2 separate regions of the Homo sapiens genome follow, and region 2 is linked to region 1. The links are contacts of gene promoters, found by promoter capture Hi-C in blood cells and fetal thymus (Javierre and others, 2016). All regions are on one chromosome and are shown on one strand. Each heading gives the region's core, a stretch centred on a gene start or on the middle of the fragment in contact. The rest is flanking DNA. Distances are from core to core; before and after follow the strand shown.

The links. Contacts are between HindIII fragments. The CHiCAGO score rates a contact against its expected background, and 5 or more counts as called.
Region 2: a fragment that was not itself captured here is called in contact with the fragment with the promoter of HOXA10-AS in region 1 in 3 of 17 cell types (total CD8 T cells, activated CD4 T cells and total CD4 T cells); the score reaches 5.6 in total CD8 T cells.

The regions. Positions count from the first base shown.
Region 1 is chr7:27,165,961-27,173,179 of GRCh38, forward strand. It overlaps HOXA10-AS (HOXA10 antisense RNA), which reads left to right and starts at 2,939. Exons shown (of 3, transcript NR_046609.1): 1 at 2,939-3,033; 2 at 3,347-3,804; 3 at 5,348-5,955. All of the region lies in intron 1 of HOXA10-HOXA9 (HOXA10-HOXA9 readthrough), which reads right to left. MIR196B (microRNA 196b) reads right to left here and starts at 3,603; the gene lies at 3,520-3,603. HOXA10 (homeobox A10) reads right to left here. Exons shown (of 2, transcript NM_018951.4): 2 at 4,645-6,213. The coding sequence ends at 5,939. RefSeq lists enhancers at 716-1,434, 2,624-3,214, 3,215-3,805, 5,560-6,059. The HindIII fragment of the contact is 2,254 bases long and covers 2,388-4,641 here.
Region 2 is chr7:26,687,579-26,694,797 of GRCh38, forward strand. SKAP2 (src kinase associated phosphoprotein 2) reads right to left here. Exons shown (of 13, transcript NM_003930.5): 10 at 2,707-2,784. Among named protein-coding and RNA genes, the nearest start is that of LINC02860, 53 kb to the left of the region's middle. RefSeq lists an enhancer at 1,500-2,605. The HindIII fragment of the contact is 311 bases long and covers 4,588-4,898 here.

The DNA of each region.
Region 1 (7,219 bases), core at 1,689-4,188:
ATTGTCGCTCTACTGTATTTAAATCTATATTTATGATATTTCATAAGGAGTTATTGTTTCAGAAGCCACACAGGCTGGCGGGAAGTCGGAAACGACCAACAGATTCGTTTGCCTCGCCGTGGCTCCCAGCTGTAAAAATTTACGAGGACTTGGAAAGGTTAGACTGTTGTGTTTGGTTGGCGAGCTCCCTGTAAATAATCCCTGCGGTCCCCGGGAGAGGCGAGTTTACCCGCGGCCGCCCTCGAAAAGTCAAATTCAACGCAGGATCCGTCCCAAACGGAGCCGCCGCCGGCCCTACCAGGGCACTCCAGGCAGGGACCGGCCGCTCAGGGAGTACCGCGGGTGTAGGTCCCCACAGCTACCCGCCTGGAGCGAGGGGCGCCCGGGCAACCCTTAAATTCGCCTTTGCTACGAGGACCCCACGGAGGAGCTGGCCAGGAGGGAGCGGCCAGCCGCCACCAGGGCGAAGGTTTTGAGGGCCTGGTTGGTTGTGCGGCGCGCTCGGTCCCCGGCCCTCGACCCCACGCACACGCGCGCCCAGCCCGCCTTTCTCATCAGCTGGCAATCAGGATTCCCAGGCGCAGGCGGCTGGCGACCCAGCCCTGTGCTCCAGCCTCAGAGGCTCTAACCATGAGCGCTGCAAGCCTGGTTGCGCTCCGTGAATCCCAGCTGGGGAAAAAACTACAAGTGGCATGAATGGAAGGCAAGTTCGGTTTGGGAAAAGGCAGCCTCGCCTAAGAGACCCCGCAGCTCCGGAACCTGGGAGGCCCGCACCGATGTGGCCTGTCCCGGGGCCGCGTGAGCCTTTCAGGGCTCCTTCCTCCCTTTCCAGCTGCTACTCCGGGCCTCGCCTTGGTTACCTACGGGGCCCGGAGACTCGGCGGAGAGGTACAAGGCCCAAAGAGAGGCAGCCACAGCTCAAGGCCAGGGCTGGAAATTAGAACGGGGAGGGGTAAAAGGGCATCGACTCCAGTCCCATTCCTGGGCCTGGCCACGTTGGGGAAGTTTATTTCTCACCCGTTGGGGGTAAATTAAAAGGTCGCCGCCACTCCGTTAATTGGAAGGAAACTCCCCCTGCCCCCAATTCCTAACAGAAAGCAGCGACTCCTAGAACAGGGGTAATCAAATTCACGTGTGGATACTGTGCCTGCAACAGTGTGTTTTTCATTAGCCCACTTCCCTGGCGGCGAGGCTGGCGGCCTCGGGCGCTTCCATCTCTCTCTCTCTCTTTTGCCTTCATCCTCACCAGCAGTTCCAGTAATCCCCCCCTCAAACACCCTGACACACTTCCGGCTGGGACTCCCAAATACCAGCGAGGCTGCCAAGCCGCGCGGATACCGACTGGGTGCCCCTTCCTGCACCCGCGCCTGGAAGAGGGAAGTGGCCGACACAATGAACTCCGAAATGGCCCCGTCCTGTCCGCCTCATCTCCCTCCCCCTAATATTTTCCTTGCCCCATAAATTCCTCTAGGTCATGCCCACCCCCACCACAGTCCACCGTGTCCTAAATACCCCGCAGTCCGCCAGGCCTCTGAGATTTTCATTTAAAAAATTAACCCTGGAGGAAACCCTGGCTCCCAATTTTAAGTGTCTGCAAATGGGCTGGGCATGTCTGGATGCCTTTTCCACGTTTTATGCCTGAGAAGACACTGATTATTTCAGTATTTTTTAAGTAAAAAAGCTGTTCCTTTAAACAGCCTTAGCCCCAAAATAAGAGAGTTACTGAACAATTAGCAGGCGTTGAGTGTTAAGCAGATGTTACTGGTGCCTAGAAAGCGGAGAAAAATCAGAAAACCAAATATTGTCTTCCTTCAGCCCAAAGGTTTGGAGCCAGAATAGTCTGACTTTTTTGTCTGCTTTTATTTTCGAAGTGAAAGAGATTGCGTATGCATAAAGAAATAATAAATGAGTATAATTTAAAGCGGCCCCTTCTCGACTGAGATTTCTGAAACTGTGATCTCTGAAATAAATCCAATGCCCTGGTCCAGAAAATGGCAGGGAGGAGTTGAAGGGAATGGGGTGTGTGGTCCTTTCAGACAGCAGGTCGGTGGCTGTGCAACGAAAGAGTTCCTGGGCCTCCAGTCCAGGCAGGGAAAGGAAACAGCTTTGTGGGCACGAATCTGTAACTGTGTGTGTTGGGAGTAGGGAGAGATAGTTTGTTTTCTGTTTTCTGTAGGGAAAATGGTCAGACTGGCTCCCATCTGTAGACTACAATTTGGAACGATGACTCAAGTTTATATCAATGGCTCTGGAATTTGGGATTCTTTTTGCCCATTTAAAACATACTGGCTCTTGGAAGGGTCCCCTTCTCCAGCACCCAGCTGCACAAAGGTGCTGTATGGAACATATTTTGTACCTAATGGAAGCCACTAGTAAGCAAGCAGTCAAGCTTTGCCCTAGCCAGTCTCCCTCAATGCGGTCAAACCCCAAGCTGTGACCGGCAGGCCGGGAAGAGCCAGCTAAGAGCTTCCCAGCGAATGGCCAGGCTCCAGCGAGGCTGGTTGGGCCTCAGCTCCAGTCCCCAGTGAGGCTGGCGAAGGCCTCCCTGCCCTCGATATGGGCACACAAAGCTGCAGCGAATGTCCCCTAATCAGATCTCCTAGTCAGCCGTTAGCGACAGGCGAAGAAACGCAAGGCTGCCGCCATCCGGTCGTGATCATAACCGAGGCCTTGTCTGCAGAGTAACACACCAGGCCCAAACCCACCGCCCTCGGCAGCCGCCCCACGCGGGCCCTTCCTCGGCAGACTTCCCAACCTCTACTTGAGCCGCAGAGGAAAGTGAGACCCCCTAGGCTCTCCTGAAGCCAGCTCTGGGCCCCTCCCCAAGGATGCTTTGGGAAGGAGATAAGGAGGTGAGATAGAATCTGGCAGAGACGGAAGATGAAAAAAAGACCAACGGAAGAAAAGAAAGCAGGAAGGAGCAAAGGAAAGAAGAAAAAAAGAAAGAAGAGATAAAAGAGGAAGGGAAGACAGGGAAAAGAAGGAAGAAAAGAGAGGCGACTCCTAGCAGCGGCCGAGCTTACAGAGAGAAGGGTAAGTGACAAGGCCAGGATCCCAGCCTGCCCTATCCTTCCTAGTCCAGCCTGAGTCTCCACTGGAAGGAGGTTCTTTCCTGAGCTCACACCCGGGACTGGTGTGTGTGTGTGTGTGTGTGTGTGTGTGTGTGTGTGTGTTCCAGCCTTACAAGAGAATGGCAGGAGGTCCCTGGGCAGGCGCAGGCCTCCAGTGGGAGGCTCAGGATGGAAGCGGGCGCCCCTGACCTTGAATGGCCCAAAGCCCAGAATTCCTACCACGCCCCCGGCGTCCGCGAAGGAGCAGCCAACCTAACCCTACCTGCTGTGACCAGGTGGAGGTGTGTGGTGGAAGGGGAAAGCCGGCCGGCTGGCAAAGCGCTGCGGAGAAAGACACGAGGCTCCTGAGCAGGGAAAGCCGAGGTTGCCACCGCAGGCCTGGCACGACCAGGGCCGTGATGCCCCGCCCGGCCCGACCCCCGCGCGCAGAGGTACCTGGAGACGATTTCAACTGAAGTAATGAAGGCAGTGTCGTGCTGTCGAGAGAAAGGTGGATCCCAACAACAGGAAACTACCTAAATCACCGACCAGTTCTGGTGCTGCCCGCGAAGGGCTGCCTCGCCCGCCGCCGCCGCCGCCTCCGCCGCTGCCGCCGCCGCCAAGGAGAGAACCCTGCCATCGCGCCTGGCCCGGCCCAGCCCAGCCCCTAGGCAACCTGCGCCCGCCAGTGCAACAGAGTGCCCCAGGCGGCCGCAAATGCGTCAAGGAAGGGGAAGCCACAGGCCCCAGTAAGGTATTCCTGGGAGGGAGAGGGAGGAAAAGAGAGGGAGGAAAGGCAGGGAGAGAGGAATAAAGGCGGGGAGCAGGCGAGACGAGAGCAGCTCCGAGAAGCAGTGTGCGCGCCGCTTTCCCAAATCTTGCAGCCCAGCGAGCCGGCGCCAAGAGGCGGTAGCCGTGGAAGGCTCGAAAGCGCCAGGGACGGTACAGATCCCGGCTCCCTGTCTGGCCCCGGCCTCCCGCCTCTCGCTCTCCCCCTCTCCCTCCTAGCTGCCCGCCCGCCGGGGCGCGCGCTCCTGCGCCCCCTCCCCTTAGCCCCCGCCCCCCCCACTCTGGCAAGCAGGAAACGCGTGGCCCTAAGGAGTGCCGCCAGGTGGGGGAGGCCGTACTGGGGGAGGGGGAGGCCCCCATGCAGTCCAGCCCGGGTCCACCTAACCGCTGCCTCCAGCGGCTAGAGATGCGCTGTGGGCCAGGCCTGCTCCCCGATTCAGATTGAGGGTCATCTGTGACCCAGACACCCGCAAAATAACCGGCCTCTGCAAGCCTCCCTGGGGCTCCCGAAAGAAATCCTGTTTGGCTTCCTCTGTCTATGTAGCTCCCCTCTCAACTGAAATCACTGGTCCAAGACAGCCACAATCCAGATATACTAGCAAGCCATAAAACTGAACAAAAGCCGACAAACCTTACGGCACCAGGGCTATAGGGCCCAGACAAATTACGACCGTCTAGGTAATATTTAAATAGATGCCTAAAGTAATTGCAGGGGCTCGGGTTAGTCCTCCTGTTGTAAAAGTGGTGAACGGGATAAAGTGGAAGGTGAAGATAAGAAGTCAAAAAAGAGGTAAAATTAAAAAGCTTCATTCCACAGCTTTTATTCTATAAGAACATAAACATCGTCTTTTTCCACGCACAGCAGCAATACAATATTAATTTATTCTGATTTAAGATTAGAAGTAAATAGAGCTAGAACTAACATTTATAATAACGATAGAATGCATTTGCTTAAAACAAGATTGGCAATTCTTCATAATAATAGACATTTATACAGATTTGTATTTATAGTTTTTTTCTTTTTCTGCATCTACAGGTTTGACCCTTTTATGCATGTAACTTCACAGTATAAAGGAAATCCAAACAATGTCTCCCTTCTCTAGTTTATTCCGCTTACCCCAGTCCTCCTAGGCTTCTGTGAATTTCAGAAAGCAAAAACAAACAAAAAAAAAACTTTTTGTTCAAGGCGATTTAAAAAAACAACTTCACAAGATAGGGAGAATTGTGGTGTGCTTGTCACATGTTACCAGTGGTAACAATTTTAATGACAAAAAAATCCACTAATTCCAAATGCATAAACAAAACTACATTATTTATCTACAGCCAGAAGGATATGGAAATTTAGAGGTAAATGAAACATTTTAGTCAGGCAATGTAAGACCTTACAGAAACTGGAAGAGAAGTCCCCTTCTCTTGGTAATTCTTTTTTTTTCTTTTTAAAGCTGGGATATCTTACAGAGGAAGGAAAAATTAACCTTTTTTACTTTCTTTCTCACTTTTTAAATCAGCCAAAGTCAAGCCCGTTTGCCAACCTGCATGTCCATGCCTGTAAGCCCTTCTCTTGGCCAAGGAAGAAAGGAAGAAAGAAAAAAGAAACCCAGGGGCCTGTATCCCCTGATTAAACACAGCACAGCACTCCAGGCAGACATGCCCGGTGGCGGCTCCTTTGCACCATTGACCTCAGGCCAGACACCTCAGCGCCAACAATGGGACCTCGGCCTTCCGGCTAGGTTTGCCCCAGGCTGGGCAGGAAACCAGCTCGGCCGAAGACAGGGGCCATTTCGAGCAGTGGGACCCCAAGACAGCAAACCCAGCCCAGTCAGGACTTGACACTTAGGACAATATCTATCTCTATAGAATTTTAGCATGATATGGCTTTTTCCCCCAGAAAACAACAAATAAACCAGCACCAAGCAAACACAAAGAAACAAAAAGTCAGAACAAACCAGCCCTGCACAGATGTAACGGCCCAGGAGATGGCGAGTGTGGGAGGGAGGAACAGGGCTCCAGCACAGGTGCGAGTTCCTGGGCAGAGCCTGAAGACAGAGGGAGGGGACCAGCGCTCGGGAAGTGAAAAAACCGCGTCGCCTGGAGATTCATCAGGAAAAATTAAAGTTGGCTGTGAGCTCCCGGATCCGGTTTTCTCGATTCATTTTCTTCAGTTTCATCCTGCGGTTCTGAAACCAGATTTTCACTTGTCTGTCCGTGAGGTGGACGCTGCGGCTAATCTCTAGGCGCCGCTCTCGAGTAAGGTACATATTGAACAGAAACTCCTTCTCCAGCTCCAGTGTCTGGTGCTTCGTGTAGGGGCAGCGCTTCTTCCGACCACTCTTTGCCGTGAGCCAGTTGGCTGCGTTTTCACCTTTGGAATTGCCTGGCATGTAAGAGAATAAAGAGGGGATGATTAAGTCGAGGCCACACGGGCTGCCCGCGGGGGTGAATTGCCTCCGTTTCTCCCATAAGAGAGATGTCCCAAGTCACAGAGAAGAGAGTCGTGCCCCCGTTTTTGGCTTGCTGAGAGCAAGCAGTTCCTCCAAAAGTCATGACAAAAATTGAGTGGGCCTTCAATCTACATGACCCTTCCAATTTACATTTCCCCCACTTTTCCAAACACCTGTTTTAGCGCTAAGCCGTAGATGCTTGCAGAAGGAAAGGCCTGGGAGGGCAGGCTGTACATCTTGAACTTAACGCTTTTCTTTGCCTCTTGCCATATGGCAGACAAGCATTTCCTGTAGCCCCCAGGCTAGGAGCGCGGGGTGCTTACTTGGAAGATGGGCCAGGCAGCTTGGCTGTCTCACCCCAGGGCCCTGATTGCCCAAGACTCGATAAGGGGAGAAAGAAGGGCATCATTGGTCCAATGGGGAAGGCAGGAAAAACCGATTCGGGGGTCAAGGGCCCTCCCTCAAGTTTCTCCAGGAGCCAGGGATAGATAGCTGGGCGATTCCGAGGTCCAGGGGAAGGGAAATGGCCCTTCTCTGGCTCTCAGCTCAGGGCCCCCCGCTTCCAGGCCGGATTTGCCTTTTCTTCTTCCCGCAACGAAGATTCCCGCCCCTCAGCAACTTTGAAAAAAGCATGGGGGATCGTAAACTCGAACTTCGCCGGTTAATGGGCTTATTTATTGGCGCTGGCGGCTGCTTATTTTGGATGCCTTACAAACATCCGCGCTATCTGCGGGCGAGCTACTTTCCCTCCCTCCCCCTCCCCCCGCGTGGGCCGCGCCGCGCAGGCTGGGCAGGGACCAGGGCTCTGGGTCCTCCCGGCCACAGGAAAGAGCGCACAGGAGGGGGCCTGCTCGCTGGTGTCCTCGTCCCTAGTCAGGGGGAGCTGAGGCCAGCGCCGAGGACGTCTTGCTGTGGGGCGCTAAGCCGGACATGAATTTT
Region 2 (7,219 bases), core at 3,493-5,992, 480 kb before region 1:
CAGGGAAGTAATGTTTGAATTCTTGATATGAAATCTGGACACAAAAATCAGGAAGAGTCTTGTTCCTTAAAGGGCAGCAATCTCCTCTAGCTTACTTTTTAAAATTTAAAGTGTAGCTAAACATACACAAAAAATTAAGCACCGACAGCCTCAAAAGCGCAGGTTTGCAAAAGTTAACACTGTTCACCCCTAAACACTGAAAAATAATCCAGTTGAGATATGTATTTTTAAAGATGGGATGAGGCAAATATCATAAACATACATTTTAAAGCACAAATTAAGTATGTTTAGTTGGCTTTACTACATGGATTAATTTTCCTATTCTATCCACATCATGATCTATATTTTAAAAATTACAAAAAAAAACTACATTATGTTTCTTGTCCTGAGAAGCATGAATGATTAAAAAAAGGTAAGAAAGAAAAAAATTAATTAGCCAGCCTGTGAAAGATTAAAACAATGTTTTTACTCCTGCTTTTAAAAACATACAAGAAGAGATCATTGGGCAAAGCTAACAGAATTGTTATGAAACATGTAGACAGAGGAGATACTTTGCAAAGATGAAAAACATGATGACCACGGGTGAAACATATGAGAATAAGATAGTGGAGAATCTCTCCTTTGGTGTTAAAAGGTTTAAAAACTATTTTAGAAAGGTAAATATATTCTATAATGTTCAAAAAAAATCAAATGGAATCTTTATTTTATATATATACTCATCCACATATCTGCAAGATATATAAGTTTGAACATGAAGGAACTTGTAAGAAACACAAGATTAATTTTGTTTTTGCTTACATACTTTACATTAGAAAAGTCTGTGGTGGGGGGTTTAGTAAAATCAGTCAATGTGAAATATATATAACATTCTTGAGTAAGGTTAGAAGTTCATGTCATGTGATGCTCAGCAAGATAGTAATACCCTTGTCAACTCACTGCCCTGCATGGCAAACAAACTTCTAGTGTTACATCTTTGACAGCCTAGGGAAGAGCAAAGGTCACTTCTATGCAAAAGCATTAAAACTGTTGCTTGAAAAGAATTTCATGTCACTAAAGATAAGAATTATTGTAGTGTTTTATAGCCATTGCATGAAAGGCTAGATCTATTTGATGCATTCCTTTGAGGAAAACTGATTTTTTTTCCTACCCTCAAAGGCAAAAATTTGGGAGATGTTTACTTTAAAAGGGCTTTTGAAAAATACAATTGCTTTAAGCCAAAATATTTGTATCTGTGGAAGAACCATCTGTATGTATCCACTTTCTATACCTGCACTGAAATTTTCTTAAAAAGAAAACTACATATTTTTGGCAGAAGTTTCATGATACATAAACCGAAAACATATATACTTAAACTACTATTGAACATAGTCCTCAAGGTTTCACTAAGCCTCAGTGTTTTATAGCTTCATTTTATAGGACTAGAGTGCTAACATGTAAAGATTTTGTTCTCGCTTCCTTTCTGAAAAAACACTAACCAAAACCTTTTGTAGCAACCTACTTCTGCTTTCCTGTCCAGGTCTAGAATCAGGCCTCTGTTTCCTTTCCACATGTCACAGTAGGAAGGACTCTGGAAAGCTACTTCCTGAACACACACTTCTTGTCCACCCGGCCTTGACAGCTTGAAAGAGTGATGTATGGACATATCAGAGAGGGGAAGGTGACCCTAACTCTAGCTTTTTGCAAGACACAGAGATGATATGGCAGACCTTGCCCCAGCTGACATGTGGCTATGAAGAGGTGTAAAGTCCTGATAAGAAGGCAGTCTTTCTCTTCTTTCCGTGTAAAATAATTGCTGGTTTATCAAAACTAACCTCATGCTTGCACTACAGATATGGTTTATCTCCTGCTATTTGGAAATAACAACAAGCAAGAAAAGTTGTCCGTATCATGTGATTTTGTACAGAGTGTGTGCAATTATTTTTCCAGTCTCATTCATAATTAGTACTTGGGGATATGTGCCAAGTGGAAATGGATAAGGGGAACATCCTTCCTAGCCTTTTAGGCCACTAGTGTCCTTTTCCAATTTTTAAGCTGCTGTCACTGGACTCTGGCATTTCTTACCCAATTCATTTGCTTTCTGTGTTAATCATATGCAATGAAGATATGCATGGCCAACATTTAAACAGGCTGCAGATCAATTAGCAGTCTTAAGTTTATCTGATTTTTATCAAAGAAGACAGAGCTGTGGGTCGACTGTCAGAGCCTGTGTCAAGTTGACCTTTTCAGAGATGTCTACATTGCCAGTCCCCTGGGCAACTTGTTGTCCCCTGTTAGTCTCTGAATGGCAGAAGTCTGTTCTGCTCAAGCACAAAGTATACACAGATGTCTATATTACATTCTTATAGGTTTGACAGCAACTGCATGTTGTATCTATAAACTGTCCTTTAGCAGTGACACTTCCTCAATGATGATAAGCTAATTTATGCAACTAAATCTCCTTTGTGCAGAAATGAAAGCTAATTGAGTCATTACAAAGTAATTCAGGAAGGAATACCTTGTATAAATTGGCTTACTTTATAAATCCTTCTCAAGTGGTTTTCATGCATCCTAAATGGGACTAAGCAGCTTATCAGCCATAAGATATCCAAGCCAAAAATGCCAACTTTGGGGAGCTGTGTAAACATCTTTAGAACAGTAAGAACATGGATAAAATGAAAGTGAACAAAAGCAAAATAAGGTTTGCCAAGAAGCTACACAAGTCATTACCTGAGGTGTGATGGACACTATCCTGACTCATCTTCCTTTGTTCTTCCACTTTCACTGGAGCACTGTCCTCTTCTTCTTCTGTAAATAAACATTATCAATGGCACATTGAAGGGTTTTCTCAGGGATAACACTACAGTACTCACTCAATTTTAAAAGCAAAACTAAAAGTTTATAACACATAAACATTATTTTTCAAAGAATAAAATAACTCAAGATTCACAGTCCTTTTTCGACAATCTAACACTGAATAAATAAAATACTAGCTACTGCCAAATAGCAACCTTTCCAACTTTCCACATAGCAAACTTTCCAACTTTCCAATAAAATACTAGCTACTTCCAAATAGCAACCTTTCCAACTGGCTTGGCAAAATTTAAGATATGTACTAATGCACTGCATGTTTTGTTTTAAATACTTTTAGAAACTCATCTGGAACAATCTTAATTTCAGGAAAACCCTTAAATCCAGTAAAGTAACACCCAGCGTTATACTGATACACCACATTGTACTGTGTGGCAGGAGTATCATATATAAAATCATGGTCCCTAAAACATCATATAGCAAGGAGAAATGTGTGATTAAAAATGCAGTTAACCTATAAATCATTTTTTTGAGTATCACATAATTTCATACGTTTTCTCAATCTTCACAGGAAGATACTATAATGATCTTCATCCTTTGAGGTAATTCCCCCAAAATTATACCAAGGACCTATTATGTGTCATATACAATGCTGGATGTTAAAATCTCATAGACAAATAATTTTTAATCCTCATTCTACAGACAAGTTTATCTTTAGAGACTCAAAAAGGTGAAGTAACTTCCAAAGTGTGTCATTCGAACTTAAGTTTGTGATTATAAAGTCAATGTTCTTTATCCTACATATAATCAGTGCTCCATTTACATTTGTTCCACACTCACCTATACCATTCCTTCCCCAAATTATGCAAAGAAATAAGATAAAATTAAATGAGAAGAGCTTTAAATAGACTTAATAAACTAATTCATTTACACCAAGAAAAATATTTATTACATGATTTTTCCTCACCTAAGGATTTGCATACAAACCTAGAAATACTTAAGGCAGGACATATAAACAAATGGCATGCCAAAGAAAAACTGGATTCAAAGAGAATCATAATTTCAAGAAAACTCCTAAAACTTTAAAGAAAAATATGCAAAATATATAAATGTAGTCATTGTAACTATTCAATCAATCAGTCAATCAATCTTCATTGGATATTAACTAACTGTGAGACAGAAGAGATCTACCAAGGAGGTAAAAGTAACAGGAAGCCTCTGCTCACAGGAAGCTGACAGCACAGATGGGACAGAAGACAAGCTCTAAAGGAAAACAGGCTGAAGGGGCCTAAACCTGACAAGTGATGCACAAAGCACTGAAGAAGTGCAGCAGAGAAACCCCCCAACTAGGGAGTACCACGGAGGCTCCAAGGGATGGAGAGAGTTTAAATAAGGAGAGAGGATAAGAAGGATATTTCCGGAGGGATAGGTATGATCTTTAAAAGAAAAAGGCATGTTCATATTCATTTTGACTAAAGAATCTGGTACACATAGGGGAAGAGCTGGGTAGGAGTTACGCTCATAGTTTGGACCAGCTGTTGAGGGGCCATGAACATCTTGTTATGGACTGCAGGCTTTTATTTGGTGGGCAATAAGAGCCTTCGAAGGTTTTTTGAGCAGAGAAAGGGCAGGACTGAAGCTATGCTTCAGGAATGGACATCTGATCCCATTGTCTCAGACAGCCTAAAAAAGGGGCGGGAGAGAGACTACTGTGGATAAAGGGGAAGGAAGTCCTGAACTGAAGGGGCAAAGGAAATGGAAAGGAGATGGTTATAAGAGGTAAAGGAACTAGAATGGATAAGCTTTGTGCCTGAATGTGGAGGAATGAGGGGGGGGAAAAGAGCAACAAAGGATGGCTAAGGTTTTGAGCTTAGTTAACTGAGAAATGGACATATTATTACTAAAAGGAGGATAGCCAAAATAATCTATCTTACTGGGGAACACAAAGAGTTGTGTTTTCAACAGGAGGAATTTAATGTATTGGTGAGGCAACCCAGAGAACATGTCTGGGCAACTGCAAAGTATGGTAGAGCAGTCAGGACTACAGGTGGAAATTTAGGAGTCTCCTGAAAATGTTAAATGGGGATGAATCAAAATCAGCATTTCAACCAAGCTTGAGAGGGTAGCTGTACTTACACGACAAATAGAACTGTTCTGAATTTCTGTAACTCAATTCAAACAAAATAATGACAACTCCAATATAAGGGACACCTGAAAATATCTGGCATTTTATTCATATTGTTAAACATAACACTGACAATTTAATATGGTTCAGTCAAATATATAGAAGACCTAATAAAAGTATACCACTCTTTTAAAAAGTATCCTGTCTCTTTTCTTTTTAACAATAGTTATCTCACTTATGCCAAACCTTAAAGGCTAGCTTTAATAAATGGGTTAATAGGGTGTTTCCATATAAATTTTTAAAGGTAGAAGGAACGTTTACAGTCATTATTCCAACCTACTCATTTTATTGACAGATAATTTGGTAAAAGGTGAAGGAGAAAGCTTTCCTTACTTTTCACACTTTCTTTCCATAGCACCCACTCCCCTTTTAATTTAGTCACAAATTCAATAGTAAGAAATAAATTAAAAAATGGATAAAGGCACTCGTCCTCAGTCAAAAGCTATAACCGCATCAATACAATAAGTATTATTAGTGGCTTTTAAGAAGAGACTGTGGGGGCTGGGCATGGTCGGTCACGCCTGTAATCCCAGCACTTTGAGAGGCCCAGGCGGGTGGATCACCTGAGATCAGGAGTTCGAGACAAGCCTGGCCAACATGGCAAAACCACGTCTCTACTAAAAATACAAAAATTAGCATGGCATGGTGGCAGGCGCTTGTAATCTCAGCTACTCAGGAGACTGAGGAAGGAGAATCGCTTGAACCTGGGAGGCGGAGGTTGCAATGAGCTGAGATCGCGCCACTGCACTCCAGTCTGGGCGACAAGAGTGAAGCTCCATCTCAAAAAAAAAAAAAAAAAAAAAGAGACTGTGGGATTTAGATTTCACCACCCAAATCAGCATGAACATATAAAAATTCATTACAAGACTTAATGAAAAAACTCTGCTCTTTGACAAAGTTAACAATGAATTTAGAAGTATTTGTTACTATGAATTTTTTATTTTATTAAAACTTAAGTGCCAGTAACATGTGCTCTGGATTGTATATTGGTGTCAGAGAGCTTTGTTCTTAGAAATATGCACTCTTAAATTATCAGAATAATGATATTAAAAGTATTTACTTAAGAATTAATGTTTACTATAAAATATCCAAATTGAAATCCATGTAAGATGCCATTTAATAAGCAGATTTTAGAGGATGAGATGCTCATTAAGGACACTTCCTTTTTCCATTTTAAACCTGGTAGCGATATTTTTAAACCAAAGCTTTATGCATTTAATATATCAATTTTTCTTAACAATATTTAAACAACTCATTTTATCTTGGCTAACAATACAAATAGCTTCCATATAAAAGATAACAAAATCAAATATGGTGTATGTTTTTGAATCTTAGGCAGGGAAAAAAACCTCAGACTGAACCTTGAATAGAACTTGGCACAAAGGAGATGTTCGATAAATACAGAATAAACAAATGGATTAAAAAAATCATACAAATAAATCTTAACATATTCATTTATTAATAGAATAAAGCTCTTAAAAATATGTAAGAACAAGTGACCAAAATTCTAGGCAATAATCACCTTCACAATATATTAGAAATATATACATTCACATATTTTTTTATTTAGGTTTATTATTAAATATGTATTATTTTGGTGTTGAGGCACAATGTCATTGTACAATACTAATTAATACCTCAAGTAGTCAATGTTTGTGAGTTAATATATTCCATTCAACATTTTAATAACAGTAAACAAAAACAGCTCAGCTATGCAGTAAAATCCATCAAACCACACAGATGGTTATAAGGTTTTCATTATGTGGTTTCCATAGCAATCATATTGCAAACCTGGAAGCTTCTTGCAAATAAGCAGCTTGTATTTACATGCCTCTCAGCTGCAGCACAAAACTCTTCAACATGTGAAGTTATTATTCCAATCACACATTGTTAGAAGAATCATCAGGAGATTTTTTTTTTTTTTTTTGAACAGACAGGATGAAAGTAACAGTAAAGTGAGCTAAGTGCAGAAGAAAATTCAAACATAGTCACACATTTACTAAACTGATCAGTGAGAACAGCAGAAATGTTCTGGTAGTCATCAAAAGGTTTTAACAATAAACTCTGTCAAAAATATGAAACTTCCAGGAGCAATCAGACCCTGAAGAATTAAAAAAAAAAACAACTGCACCCACCCCTCTTTTTAATAGATATTTGGCCTTCTCTCTGAGTTAAGCAAAGAGAGGAAGAATGGCAAATAGTTTGAGTCTTCCCAAATCTTTTTAGCATTTGAGAAAAGGCTTACTG